Regions from separate parts of the Homo sapiens genome. Here all the other regions are linked to region 2. The links are contacts of gene promoters, found by promoter capture Hi-C in blood cells and fetal thymus (Javierre and others, 2016). All regions are on one chromosome and are shown on one strand. Each heading gives the region's core, a stretch centred on a gene start or on the middle of the fragment in contact. The rest is flanking DNA. Distances are from core to core; before and after follow the strand shown. Region 1 overlaps GDPD4 (glycerophosphodiester phosphodiesterase domain containing 4). Region 2 holds the start of AQP11 (aquaporin 11). Region 3 overlaps GDPD4 (glycerophosphodiester phosphodiesterase domain containing 4).

Region 1 (4,655 bases), core at 1,390-3,889, 300 kb after region 2:
ATACATGTGATATTTTGATACATGCATAGAATGTGTAATGGTAAAATCAGGGTATTTAGGATATCTATCGCTTTGAAAATTTATCATTTCTTTGTACTAGGGACATTTCAAATCTTCTAGCTATTTTAAAATACAGAGTATATTGTTACCTGTAGTCACCCTACTATGCTATCAAACACTAGAACTTGTTCCTTCTCTCTAACTGTATGTTTGTACTTATTAACCTACCTTTCTTCATCCCCCTGCAACCCCATGTCCTTCCCAGCCTCCGGTAATTATCATTCTACTCATTACCTCCATGAGATCAACTTTTTAAGCTCCCACATGAGTGAGAACACACAATATTTGTCTTTTTGTGCCTGACTTATTTCACTGAACATAATGACCACCAGTACCATCCATACTGCTGCAAATGACAGAATTTCATTTTCTTTTTATGGCCGAAGAGTATTGCATTGCATATATAAGCTCATTTTCTTTATCCATTTGTCCATTAATGGACACTTAGGGTGGTTCTCTATCTTTGCAATTGTGCGTAGTCCTGCAATAAACATAGGGATGCAGGTATCCTTTTGATATACTGATTTCCTTTCTTTGGATAACTACCAAGTGGTGGAATTGCTGGATCATATGGTTACTACAATATTTTAGTTTTTTGAGAAATCTCCATATTGTTTTTTATGGGCTGTACTAATTTATGTTCCCACCAACAGTGTGTAAGAGTGCCCTCTATCTTTGCCAGCTTCTTTATTTTTTGTCTTTTTGATAATAGCCCTTCTAACAGGGGTAAGATAATGTCTCACTGTGGTGTTGATTTGCATTTCCCTAATTATTAGTGATATTGAACATTTTTTCATATACCTGTTGGCTATTTGTATGTCTTCTGTTGAGAAATAGAAGGGCTTTGGTTTGTTCTTGGTTTTCCAGTTCCTTGAGGTGCATAATTATTTATTTGAAATCTTTCTACTTTTGATGTAAATGTTTATTGGTATAAGCTTCCCTCTCAACATTCCTCTTGCTGTATCACATAGGTTTTAGTATGTGTTTTTTAATTTCATTTGTTTCAATAATTTTTTTTTCTTCTTAATTTCTTCATTGACCAATGGTCAATCAGGACCAAGTTGTTAAAATAATTTCCATGTATTTTTACAGTTTCAAAAATTTCTCTTGTTATTGATTTCTACTTTTTTTCCATTGTGGTCAGAAAAGATACTTAATGTGATTTAGATTTTTACAAATTTGTTTAGACTTGTTTTGTGACCTAACATGTAGTCTATCCTGGAGAATGTTTTATGTGCCGATGGGAAGAATGTGTATTCTGTAATTGTTGGATAAAATGTTCTGTATATATCTGTTAGGTCCATTTGGTCTTTGTTTTCTTTCAGGCCATCCTCTCCTATCGTGTAAGATTTCTACTGAGAAATCCACTATTAGTCTGACTGGTTTCTCTTATGTGTGACTTGATGCTTTTCTCTTGCTGTTTTTGGAATTCTCTGTCTTTGGCTTTTGGCAGTTTGACTATAAAGTGCCTTGGAGAAGACCTTTTTCGGTTAAATCTATTTGGGGATCTTTGAGCTTCCACTATCTGGATGTCTGAACCCCTTGTAAGACTTGGGAAGTTTTCAGTGATTATTTTATTAAATTGGTTTTCGATGCTTTTCCCCACCTCTTCTTCTGGAATATCCAAAATTCGAGTACTTGGTCACTTTATGGTTTTCAAAAATGTCATGTAGGGTTTCTTTATTCTTTTCCCTCCCTCCTCCCTCCCTTCTCCCTCCCTCCTTTCCTTCCCCTCCCTCCCTCCCTTCCTTCCCTCCCTCCTTCTCTCTCTCTCTTTCCCTCCCCTCCCTCGCTCCCTCCTTCCTTCCCTGCCTGCCTGCCTTCCTTCTTTTTTGAGATGGAGTCTTGCTCTGTCACCCAGGCTGGAGTGCAGTGGTGCAATCTCAGCTCACTGCAACCTCCGCCTTCCAGGTTCAAACAATTCTTCTGCCTCAGCCTCGCAAGTAACTGTGATTATAGATGTGCACTACCATGCATGGCTAATTTTTTATATTTTTAGTAGAGACGGGGTTTCATCATGTTGGCCAGGCTGGTCTCGAACTCCTGACCTTAAATGATTCCCCCCACCCCCTGCCTCGGCCTCCCAGAGTGCTGGGATTACAGGCATAAGCCACTATGGCCAGCCGGCCTGCCTTCTCTCTCTCTTTCTCTCTCTGTCTCTTTCCGTCTTCCCTCCTTTTCCCCTCCCCTCCCCTCTTTTTTGAGATGGAGTATTGCTCTGTCACCTAGGCTGGAGTGCAGTGGTGCGATCTTGGCTCACTGCAACCTCCGCCTTCCAGGTTCAAGTGATTCTCCTGCCTCAGCCTCCCAAGTACTTGGGATTACAGATGTGCACTACCAAGCCCAGCTAATTTTTGTATTTTTTATTAGAGACGAGTTTTCATCATGTTGGCCAAGCTGGTCTCGAACTCCTGACCTCAAATGATCCATCCACCTTGGCCTCCCAAAGTGCTGGGTGTGAGCCACAGTGCCCAGCCAGGCTTCCTTCCTTCCACTTTTCCTTCTCTTTCTTTCTCTCTCCCGCTTCCCTCCCCTCCCCTCCCCTCCTTCTGTTTCTTTCACCTTACTGGGTTATTTCAAATGACTTGTCTTCAGGTTCTGAACTAATATCTCCTTATTGAATTATCTCATTCGGATTTTGAATTGTTTTTCTGATTTCTTTGTATTATTTATCTGTGTTCTCTTGTATCTCATTGAGTATATTTAATATTGTTATTTTAAATTATTTGTAGGCATTTCACACATTTCTTTTACATTGGAATCTCTTGCTGGATAATTATCACATTACTTCGAAGTTGTCATGTTTCCTTGCTTTTTCATGTTTTTTGTGTCCTTATGTTGATATCTGCACATCTGCTGTAACAGTTGCCTTTTCTAATTTTTTGGGTTGGCTTTCATAGGGGAAGATTTTTTTTTCTTGTAGATGTATCTGTAGAGTTGGTTGGGTGGGGCACTTTAGTTTTTATTCTGGGTTCATGCAGTAGTATAGTCTCCCTGGGATTTCTTTGGCTGTAATCAATATCAGTGGTGTCTATGATTTTGTCAGTGGTTTAGGCTCTGGTTGTTAGCACAGGCTGTGGTGAGACTTTGCTGGGAATGGGGAAATCAGGCAGGCCAATCCTCAGGCCCCAGTGGTGGTGGTGGCAGGCCGATTGTTCCTGTCCTTGGACCCCTGGCCAGTGTACACAGGCACTGGTGTTAGCAGGTCGAGGTGGGCCAATTTTTAGGTCTCTAGGTGGCTTGCTTGGGTACTGGCAGTGTTAGCAGTGTGCAGGGCAGGTGGGTGGGACCTGGAGCCCTGGGCAGCATGTGTGGTATCAGCGATGGCAGTAGTGTTAGGGGGCCAATCTTTGGTCTCCCAGGTAACATGCACTGGTGCTAGCAGTGACAGCAATAGGATGGGTGGGTCAGTCTATAGGTCCCCAGCTGGCATGTGTGGGTAGGCATTGGTGGTGGTAGTAGTGCCAGGTGATGTTGGCCTGTCCTCAGGCTCCTTGATGATGTACACAGGTGCAGGTTGTGGTAGGTGCCTGTGTTCTTAGTGCCATTGTGAAGCCACATGCTACATATTTTGTTCTATCTCTGAAATATTTTTTGTTGGCAAAGGAAAAATAAACTTGTCACATTTCAGCCATTGTTGTTTTGAAGATTCCATCATTCATAATTGAAGCTAACCCTAACTGATTCCATATGGGAGAGGAGAGAAAGGGAAGGAGCAGCCAGCTGTGTGTCTGAGTCACTTATTAGTCAACGATGGTATTTTCATGTACCTCACCCGTGCCTTTAACGTCTCAAGTTATTTCAACAGCATATTGCAATTTGAGAAGCACGTTTGCATATATTATCTAATTTGATTCTTTCAGCATTTATTAGTTGGTGAGGACAGGGAATATTGTCCCACTTTAGAGGTGAGAAAACTAAACCTAGAGTGATGCAGTGATCACAGTAAACACTCAACAAGTTAGTGGGAGGGAAAGGTAGGAAGAAACTCTATTCTTCTGCCCCAAATCCAGTATATTACCTTTGATTATAAACAGTTTTTTAAAAATCCATCTGTCTTTGATAAAATTTTCTGTAGAATGGTGGGATAAGGTACATTAAGGGGAGCGACACTAGATCCTGATTATTTTATTTGTCTTTCCAGCTAAAGGGTGAATCATGTTTAAGAAGGTCAACAGGATTGAGCACAAGAGGAATAAGACAGAAAAACCAAAAAAGCTTAATCCATGGATTCCACGCATCTTCAACCACAAATGCTTTGTCACCTTCCTTACTGGCTGCTATAGTTGCCTCTGGAAATTCAGACAATGGGAAAAAACTAAAGTTGGATTTTGTTGCTGCACTTGGGTACAGACTGATAAGGAGCTGGACCACATTTTCTCAGATGCGGGGAGCATAGGCTGACTGCTGGGCCCCATGAGGGCTCTTTATGGTCTCCAGGACTGGGGATGCTAGGGCTCCATTTCTTCCATAAAAGTATTGCACCAATGTTAAACTTACTGAAACATGTACTTGCTTTCTTCATTTTCTTTCCTTCACTTCATTTTTCACTTTTATTCTTTACTTTTCCTTACTACCTCTTTTATGTTTATTCA
Region 2 (4,909 bases), core at 1,603-4,102:
TCCCTCTCCCCCATCAATTAGTACCCTCATTTCAAGAAAAAAAGGGCAGTGTTTTTGATCTGTTGATATTTTATAGATACTTCTAATAACTTTCCTTATATCTATGACTGGATCTATAACTCCAAGTATTATCTGTGTCTCTTCTCTCAAATTTTTTGTCACTGATAAAATAGGGAATGGCTAATATATACAGTATTATCTATGGAATCATAAATATGTATTAAAAGTAGACAGAAAGAATATCAACTTCAGGTTAATCAAGAGAGGGAAGAGGAACATAGGTATTGAAAAATCCAACTGTAGTTAATGTTCTATTGATGTAAAAATTCTTTTTTAAGTTTTTACTGCTTTTAATTGTAGAAATAAAGAGCTAAACCATAGCATAACTCTTTTTGCAGTGACAATTCTGTTCATATACAGGGGATGTTTCTGCTTTAGCTAAAATCTAAAACTTCAATAAATAAGCAACTACCCACCAATCCCTCAAATATGCCTGTACTTGTCACTCTTTTTCTCTTTTTCTTTTTTTTTTTCTTTTGAGACAGACAGGGTCTCTATAACCCAGGCTGGAGTGCAGTGGCACTATCACAGCTCACCACAATCTCAACCTCCTGGACTTGGGTGATCCTCCCACCTTAGCCTCCCAAGTAGTTGGGACTACAAGTGCGCACCAGCACGCCCGGCTAATTTTTGTATTTTTTGGAGAGATGGGATTTCTCTTATGTTGCCCAGGCTAGTCTCGAACGCCTGGGCTCAAGCGATCCACCTGCCTTGGCCTCCCAAAGTGTTGGGATGACAGGTGTGAGCCACCGTGCCCGGCCCCCTTCACTCTTCTATACCACTTATTTCCATTTATGTCTACTTAAAAAGTGGTACTAGACCTAAAGAAGGGGAAATTGATTGGGAAGGCTTGCTTTCTTTCTTTTTTTTGAGACAGAGTCTCACTGTTGTCGCCTGGGCTGGAGTAAAATGGCGCGATCTCAGCTCACTGCAACCTCCGCCTCCCGGGTTCCAGCAATTCTCCCGCCTCAGATTCCCGAGTAGCTGAGATTACAGGCGCCCACCACCATGCCTGGCTAAATTTTTTTTGTATTTTTAGTAGAGACGGGGTTTCACCATGTTGGCGAGGCTGGTCTCAAACTCCTGACCTCAGGTGATCCACCCACCTCGGTCTCCCAAAGTGCTGGGATTACAGGCGTGAGCCACCGCGCCCGGCTGAAGGCTTTCATTTTTACCCTAGAAGGTCAAGTACGTGTTTAGGAGTCCTTATCTTGAAGTTTGCTTCTAGTCATTGTTTCACTTTTAATGGGCAGAAGATTATTACCACAAATTTCCTTTGTTGTTATTTCTGCCTCCACAGTCTTTTATAATTTAGATGTAGTCCCAATAAAGATATTCTGTTGTAATCATTTAAAATGACACATTTCATCATTAAATACTTGTGTTTTGGATTTCCTCCTCCCACTTAGGACTAGATTGCCCACTGCATCTGAGATCTGTCAAAGTAAACAAATGGTTTAAAAGAAATCAACAGATTTCTCAAGAGTTATATTTTAAAAAGCATCTTTAATTTGAAGCAAGTTATCATTTAAACATTTTTCTTAATAGGTCACTTAAAAGTTCATGTATAACTCAAAATGAATTATTAAGGAAATAAGAAATTTCATAACTCAAAATGAATTATTAAGGAAATAAGAAATGACTTTAAATCATTTATAGGACTAAAATGGAACTACAAAATTTCTACCCTCCGCTCTTATACTAACCAATCATGTGCCTTGTGCTTTAAATCGAAAGGAACTTTGTAAAGCCAGGATCATTTTTCAGTAAGAGTATCCGAAACGATCTATACCACCTTGGCATGAAGAAAGAGGCAGTTAATAAGTTATCTTTCCTTTCTACCATTAAAACAATCCCTTTGTAGGATATCTGAACCCTTGGCAATATCTCACAGTATCTCAGTTTCAGCACAGAGGTGGCTCCTTTCTCTGGGTGTTCAAAGCAGCACTGCATGAAGGCTCTACGTGTCGGCCCTACTGGTTAAGAACGGGCTGCAAAATGGTTAGAATAACGGGGATACCAGCATTTACATCATAGCGGGATAGACGGTTTCAAATGTATTTTAGTAAAGAACTTACAGCCTCATGTCATAGAGGCTCTGGAAGTGCCAAGTATTTGGTGAGAATGACAAACCTGCATAGACCAAAAAGGTGATGAGTGCAGCCAGCAGGTGGATACGAAGCTTGGTTCGGACTTCCTGGAAGTGCAGCAGAGCGCTGTGGAAGAGAAAGGAGCAGACGGCCTCTGTGATGACCGCTTTGAGCAAGTCGACTCGGATGGGATTCTTGCAAGCGAAGCTCCTCTCGCTGACGTGATACTGGGTCAGACCCAAGCTCCACAAGGCGCTTGTGCAGTACCTGCTGCACAGGGCACTAACCAGCTGAGCCAATAGCCTCACCGCACCCGTCTCGGGGGACATGCCCCCCAGCATCATCTGCATCATCACGCCGCACGGGTTGCTGGACGTGCCCACCAGAGTCAGGCCATGCACAAGCGAGAAGAAGTAGACGAGCGTCAGCGTCCAGGTGGGGTGCGCGGGGTGCTGTTCGCTCAGCAGTTGCAGCTCGTGGGTGCAGCAGCAGAGCTGGAAGGTGGCTAGAAACTCCAGGACGAAGGCGTGGGCCACCGGCCTGTGCAGCTGCTGCCGGGCGACTACGCGGGCCAGCCCCATGAGCAGCACCACCGACAGCATCAGTCCCAGCGAGGTGCAGGTGTCCTGCAGCTCGGACCGGAGCCCCAGCAGCGGCGACATGGCTCCGTCGCCGCCTGAGCGGGTTGCGGGCTCCGGCTCTGGGTAGGAGGCGGTCTCCAGGCCCGAGTCCGAAGTCCGCAGCCCCTCCCCTCCTCACGCCCCTCGGGGCGGGACGAGCGGGAGGCTCCCGAGCGGCACACTTAAGAAGTCCTCCCCGCCTCCCCGGCTTGGCGCTGGGGTGTTGGAACCAGAGCCGAGGAGGCGGGGAGGCGGGGAGGCGGGGAGGCGCGGGGAGGCGCGGGGAGGCGAAGGGAGGTAGCCTAGGGCGCCGGCCGCAGGGCCAACGGTCAGCCGAGCCCACCGCGCACTCACCCTCCGCAGTCTCCCTCAGGGCCTTGTAGGCGGGCGCGGCGGCGGAGGGCCGGCGCGGCGCGGTCGACGCAGCGCTCTTGGTGCCCACTGCGCACGCGTGCTGCGGCCCTTGCGCCCCTGCGGGCGGTGACACCCGGACCACGGGGCGGAGAGGAGCGGCACGGCGCGGCGGAGCTCTGATGGTTGCTTTGCAGCGAGGACCTTAGAGTTTTTCTTTCCCCGCTCCACACTGTAAAACCGTGGAGCTGGAAAGACCGCTGAAGGCCATCTCACATAGCCACCTCGTTTTTATCAATGGGCGACTGAAATTGAGAGGGGAGACGCGGCGCAGGGGGCGGGTGAGTTAGTGGGCGTAGACCGGTGCGCAGGGCCTCCTGGAGCCTTGCTTTTCTTCACCTGCCAAAAAACATTTCTAAAAATGGTGGTAATATATGCCAGATAAAATTCGCCACTTTAATCAATTTAAGTGTATATTTCAGTGGCATCGATTACCCTCACAGTGTTGTTCAACAGTCACCTCTTTTTTCCAGAACTTGAGCGGTGATTCTTCAAAGTGTAGCCTAGTTTTAGCATGTGACTGTCTATAACCTTTGGCATGAACTCTTTACGTATAATATGAAACAGTTGTGTCTTACTGTTACATGCACTCTTCGTGAAGAGGAAACAACAGGTAACTGGAGAGGTCTGTTTCCAAGAACTGGGGGTCCTGGCGCACCTCTTCCATCTGCTTTGAAAGCAGGAATACGGCTGCGTGAGGTGGAGCGCGTCCGGAGTCCCAGCACGGAGAGGCTTAGGTGGGAAGACCGCTTGACCCCAGGAGTTCCAGGCTGCAGTGAGCTGAGATCGCGCCACTGCACCCCTGCCTGGGCCACAGAGCGAGACGCTGTTTTTAGAAACAAAAACAACAACAAAAACCGGGCGCGGCTGGGCGCGGTGGCTCACGCCTATAATCCCAGCACTTTGGGAGGCCGAGGCGGGCGGATCACCGGAGGTCGGGAGTTCGAGACTAGCCTGACCAACATGAGAAACCCCCGTCTCTACTAAAAATACAAAATTAGCCGGGCATGGTGGCGCATGCCTGTCATCCCAGCTACTCGGGAGGATGATGCAGGAGAATCGCTTGAACCCGGGAGGCAGAGGTTGTGGTGAGCCTAGATCGCGCCATTGTACTCCAGCCTGGGCAACAAGAGCGAAACTCCGTCTCAAAAACAACAACAACAACAACAACAACAACAACAAACCAGTCAAACAAACAAAAAACAAAACATGAAAGCCACTTAGTACAGTTCCCAATACGTAGAAAATATTCACTAAGTGGTAGCTTACAGTGGAAACAGCAGGTTTCAGCAGCCAGAGTGCACGGCTCTTGCCACCGCATTCCAGTCCCAACAGCTTGTCCCCTGGGGTGGCCCATTGTAGGTGCAGCACTTTGGGAGTCCGAGGCAGGCGGATAACGAGGTCAGGAGTTCAAGACCAGCCTGGCCAACATAGTGAAACCCCGTCTCTACTAGAAATACAAAAATTAGCTGGGCATGGTGGTGCGCACATGTAGTCCCAGCTACTCGGGAGGCTGAGGCAAGAGAATCCCTTGAACCCGGGAGGTGGAGGTTGCAGTGAGCCAAGACAGTGCCACTGCACTCCAGTTTGAGCAACAGAGTGAGACTTCGTCTAAAAAAAAAAAAAATTCTTTCACAAGACACAAACTAGTAGAAAATCAAGACCTTTTCTCTTTCCTGTGTTGATTGCCTGGCCAGAAAGAATTTAAATTAGAATTATTTATTATTA
Region 3 (4,700 bases), core at 1,776-4,275, 360 kb after region 2:
GTTTGCTTAGAGTCAAGTAAAGAACTGATAAATGAGCAGATCATTCGAGTACGGGGTGATAAGTGCTCTGATAGAAGCGAGTATATAGGTGCTGCTACATAGTAGCATGCCAGAGCCAGCTCATACCAGCTTGTTATTAAATATTCAGAAACTCTGCAAATTGGTTCTACCAATGGTAGCTTACAGTTGGCTATGGTAGGAGTGTTTTTACCATGGAAATTTGCATATGCTACAATAGGGTTTTCCTTTTTCCTTTTCCCCATTCTTTTTTTTTTTTTTTTTTTCAATATGTTTTCTTTCTTCCTTTTTATTATTCTCCTTAGGACATTTGGTTTACCAGCACACCACTGTTGCTACAGGAGCAGAGGTGCTAAATCCAATCCTTTATCTTATTGTACTATGAGCCCATTCTGTCACATCGTATCATGAATTGTCCCTGGATCAGCTGCTTCTGGTGATTTAGGCAACAGCCTTTCACAAACATGGTGGCTGTTCTCCTTTTAGATGATGAGAATGAAACTTGATCTAAATCCCCTGTGGGTTCTGTTTTTGTTCCAGAGATTATAAAGCAGCTAACATCCATATCAACGTATACACCGTCAATGAGCCTTGGCTTTTCTCACTGGCCTGGTGCTCCAGGATTAACTCAGTGACCACAGACAACATTGGGCTCCTGAGTCAGCTTGATCACCCTCACTTCTTCATGGTGAGCTGGTTGTCCAGATTGTTCTTCCAGGCTTGGTATGATAGCAGTGCAGGCCCCCCAGCCCTGTGTTGCCCACTGTGCCATCCCCTGGGCAGCCACTTAAGAGTACAGACTTCTATGAATATTGGAGATGTGGTATTTTCCATTCTCACAGATCCTTCTGGGATTTTCAGGCAAAAATTAGTGTTGTTATAATAATTGACATTTATTGAATCCTTACAATGTGCTTGACATGCGTTATGTCATTTAACCCTTTGAATTGGCCACTGTTATCATCTTCATGAGGAAACTGAAGCTCAAAGATATCTTTGCATGTGGTTTCATGAGGCAGGATTCAGAATGAGGTCTGACTTCAGAGTTTTGTTACTGTAGCCCCACCTTTGTAGAGGCATGGCAACAATTGACAACGGCATGGAGAGTGGGGAGAAAACCAAGCGTACTTGACTCCAAAGTGGAAACTGTGTGCCCTAACAAATGGCTTTTGAAGAGGGTAGCCAGTGTCCAGTTGCATGTTCTAGGCCTTCTGTTGCTTACTGCCAGAAGCTTGAGAACCTGAAGACCTGGTTTACGATCCCAGCCAAATCCTATCACTATCTGTGGAGGGAGCCCTAGCTAACCAGTTACTGCTACAGAACTTGTTCTTATCTGTACAGAGAGTAGGTTGACTGAGTGGGACACAATAGCATACAACAGAAAACAGTTTAATTTCGCTGCATTGATTCTTTAAACCTGGTCTGTGATGTAGGCCTTTCTCTGCCCCTGAATGAAATCTCACTTAGGTCCTGTAGCTTTTCCAGTCACTGTTAGATAACTTTTAGAAGTTCACTTTTAGTCATCAAAAAGCCTCACTTCAGAATTAAGAGTCCAATCCCAAGTAATAACCCAAACTCCAAATGGCCTTGAAAGTTAAAGCCTTTGTCAGAGAAGCCTAAGAGGGAAGGGGCCTCAAGTCACCTCCTCCAGATCTCCACCCTCTGGCCTGAGCTTCTGACCTGTTCAGGGTCAGGACCAGGGGAAAAGGGATCCAGAGTCAAGGCACAGTCTTACAGGGCCAGTAACTGCATCTAGGCCCTCTGGTAGACAGGAGAAATCGCTGACTTCTTACTATGGTGGCTTGGTCAGCTTCCTGGAGATGACCCTGAAGGGAGCTTTGGATGGCAGGTCACTCAGCACAGGTGGAGCCTTTCCACCCACCTGTCCCCATATAACTCCCCTTCATGTATATACTATGTGTTTTTCTAACATTTTAAAATCCAGTCATTACAAAAATGCATAATTTAGAAAGCAGCACACCCCTCCATAATCCTATCCCCTGAATCAGTAATGTCTCAAAGTTGTCCCTTTGGGAGGTACACATTTACTTAAATGATGCTATTTCTGAATGCGTTTTTTTCATTTTAATATTTAAATGAATAAATCCATGTGATTCAAAAATCAAAAAGTTTAAAAGGATATATGTAAGAAAACCAATCTTCCTTCCACACCTAGTCTAGGCATTTTTAAAGGACCCAATGCATGGTTCCCAGCCTATGCCATGTGTCATTTTATTCAGGGAGGTGAGGCTGGTGTCCCAGAGGTCTTAACAGGAAGCCTACACTCCAGAGTTAGACTGATTGAGATTTAGATTCAGATCTTGGCTCCATTACTTACTGTGTGAATGTGGAAATACTAGTTAATGTGTTTGTGGTTTTTGGCTTTTTTGTTTCTTCTGTTTGAAAATTGGGGATAATAATAGTGCAGTAGAAACACTTGTGTCCAACATAATCTGGTCTGGTCATTGGTCTCGTAATTGAGAAAATTAAAGTGAGGAATCATTTAAAAATGATATACACTTTATCAGTTAGCTTTTAATGCTTAATAAAAACTACCTAAAACTTAGTGTCTTAAACAAATATTTATCATGTCTCAATTCTGGCTGATGGCTAGGTGGTGTCTCTGGTTTGAGCCAAGTCAGCTGGGCTGGATAGTCTAGGATGCCTTGTTCATTTGTCTAGAGGCGCACCTGGAATGACCAAGTTTCTCTTCGTGTCGTCGCTCATCCTCAAGGCAGCTAGCTGGAGTGTGTTCACCTAGTGGAGATGGGTTCCCAACAGCAAGAGAGAGCAAGCCCCAAAGCACATGGACTTTTCAAAGTTCTCACAGTGTTATGTTTGCTGATGTTCCATTGGCCAAGGAAAATCACCTGGCCAAATTCAGATTCAGGGTGGGAGAGAAACAGACTTCACCTCTTGATAGGGAGGCACAGCTAAGTCACGTTGTGTAGGGGCCTGCATATAGGTTTGGAAGGAATTTTGTGGTCATTTTTATAAACAGTATGCCACATACATACTTCACAAATTTTATTTTAAAATATTCATTCACCTTTTGACAGTCATTTCTTTGAGGATATTTCTGCTGATCGAGTTCTATGTTCTCTCATTTAAACATCCAGATGAACTAGCTAGGATTTCTAACTGTTTGTTTTAAGCAGAACAGGAACTTAAAGTCATTAGGACAATCAATCTGAATGAGCAATCTACCTAGATCTTTATAATCCCTCAAACCCTTGTAGTGTTTCACCTACACCTAATCTAATTGCTGTCTATTCTTTAATGATCTATTTTGTCCTCATTGAGTTTTTCAAAGCATTTGACTTAGTTTCTTTGAAAATGACATACTTTTTTCACTCAGATCTCACAAATTTAAGCAGCATCTAATTACATTGCACTATTACAATAACAAGTACAGTTGACTTAAGCCATTTGGGAAACAAGGATAACTGATTCTTTGTGAACATTCTGCTTATCTGGTAGGCCTCTTGGAGCAATCAGCCAACTACAGCAGCCCTCAGTCAATATTTTTCCCAGAGGGGATTAAGAGCCTCAGTTCAGTGGAAGTTGGTTAAGATTTTCTACTAGTAGGGCTATTATGAGGCTTAAATCTGTAAATACCCCTGAAGTGCTTAGAATACCTGCCTGGCTCCTGTTAATTGCTTATTGTTAATTATGATCATTAGTGTTATTAATTTTATTATTCAGCTCAAGGAAAGACCTTGGGATAGGGTGGAGAGTGGTCTGAGAAAGGATAAAATGTGCCAGCCCTATTAGCATCAAGTGGAATTAGAGAGGGCACAATTGAGGTGGAAAGGGAGCATCAAACTCAATGAGAGGACCCAGAAGACAGAGCTCTGGGAAATAGATGATTTGGGCAAGGAGCATAGAAGAGGAGCATGTAGGTAAGGGGTAATTGTACTTCAGCATTCTTAATTAAAGTGTGATACTTTAGAACAATGGTTCCCAAATGCTGGCTTACAGACACATGGCTTCAGCATCACCTGGGAATGTGTTAAAAATGCAGAGATTCTCATTCCTTAGGTGTCTAGTGAGACCCAGAAACCTGTATTACTAAAAGCTGCCCCGGGAGACTTGGCTGCACAGCCAGGTTTGAGAAGCCATGCCTTGAAAACAGCAGTAGAAGTCAAGAACCTGGACTGTGGTCTTGGGTCCAGAATAGACTTGTTGTGTGACTTCTCTGGGACCCCCTCTGCCCTCTGTCTTGGGAGATGAAAGGTGAGATGAAAGGTGTGAAGTGTTCTATTCCCTCTAGAGCCCCCTGCATGTATAAGGGTGACTGTTAGGACACTTGCAGGGACTGTCTGTGTTTGAGAATGCCACATCAATCAAGGTTCCTTGGCCTGTCTATCCCCTCTTCCTCTCCTCCTCCAGCCCTGGCAGCAGAGCAAGGGACTTAGACCGTATGATCCAAAATCCCTTCTAACTGTAAAGTTCTTTCACTGTGGTTTATGTTTTTCAGACACCAAAGTTCTATGTGTTCATGTGGCTCCTTGCAGATATCATTTCTGTGCTTTTTATTGTTGCCATATTTTGTTTTCACTGGTAAGTATATATATAATTTTAAATGAATTTTTTCCAAAATAAATGGATTATTATAGGAAATTGAGAAAAATAAGAGTTACGCTCTTCCCGTAATCCCACATGGCAAGATGGCGTTTATA

The links. Contacts are between HindIII fragments. The CHiCAGO score rates a contact against its expected background, and 5 or more counts as called.
Region 1: a fragment that was not itself captured here is called in contact with the fragment with the promoter of AQP11 in region 2 in 1 of 17 cell types (M0 macrophages); the score reaches 5.3 in M0 macrophages.
Region 3: a contact is called between a fragment that was not itself captured here and the fragment with the promoter of AQP11 in region 2, in 1 of 17 cell types (M0 macrophages). The highest score is 5.4, in M0 macrophages.

Annotation. Positions count from the first base shown.
Region 1 is chr11:77,286,970-77,291,624 of GRCh38, reverse strand. It overlaps GDPD4 (glycerophosphodiester phosphodiesterase domain containing 4), which reads left to right. Exons shown (of 17, transcript NM_182833.3): 2 at 4,205-4,407. Among named protein-coding and RNA genes, the nearest start is that of GDPD4, 12 kb to the left of the region's middle. The HindIII fragment of the contact is 3,283 bases long and covers 998-4,280 here.
Region 2 is chr11:77,587,896-77,592,804 of GRCh38, reverse strand. AQP11 (aquaporin 11) reads right to left here and starts at 2,852. Exons shown (of 3, transcript NM_173039.3): 1 at 2,194-2,852. The coding sequence starts at 2,812. RefSeq lists a silencer at 2,876-3,505. The HindIII fragment of the contact is 3,851 bases long and covers 2,245-4,909 here.
Region 3 is chr11:77,229,031-77,233,730 of GRCh38, reverse strand. It overlaps GDPD4 (glycerophosphodiester phosphodiesterase domain containing 4), which reads left to right. Exons shown (of 17, transcript NM_182833.3): 14 at 559-706; 15 at 4,499-4,581. Among named protein-coding and RNA genes, the nearest start is that of GDPD4, 70 kb to the left of the region's middle. The HindIII fragment of the contact is 3,548 bases long and covers 1,252-4,700 here.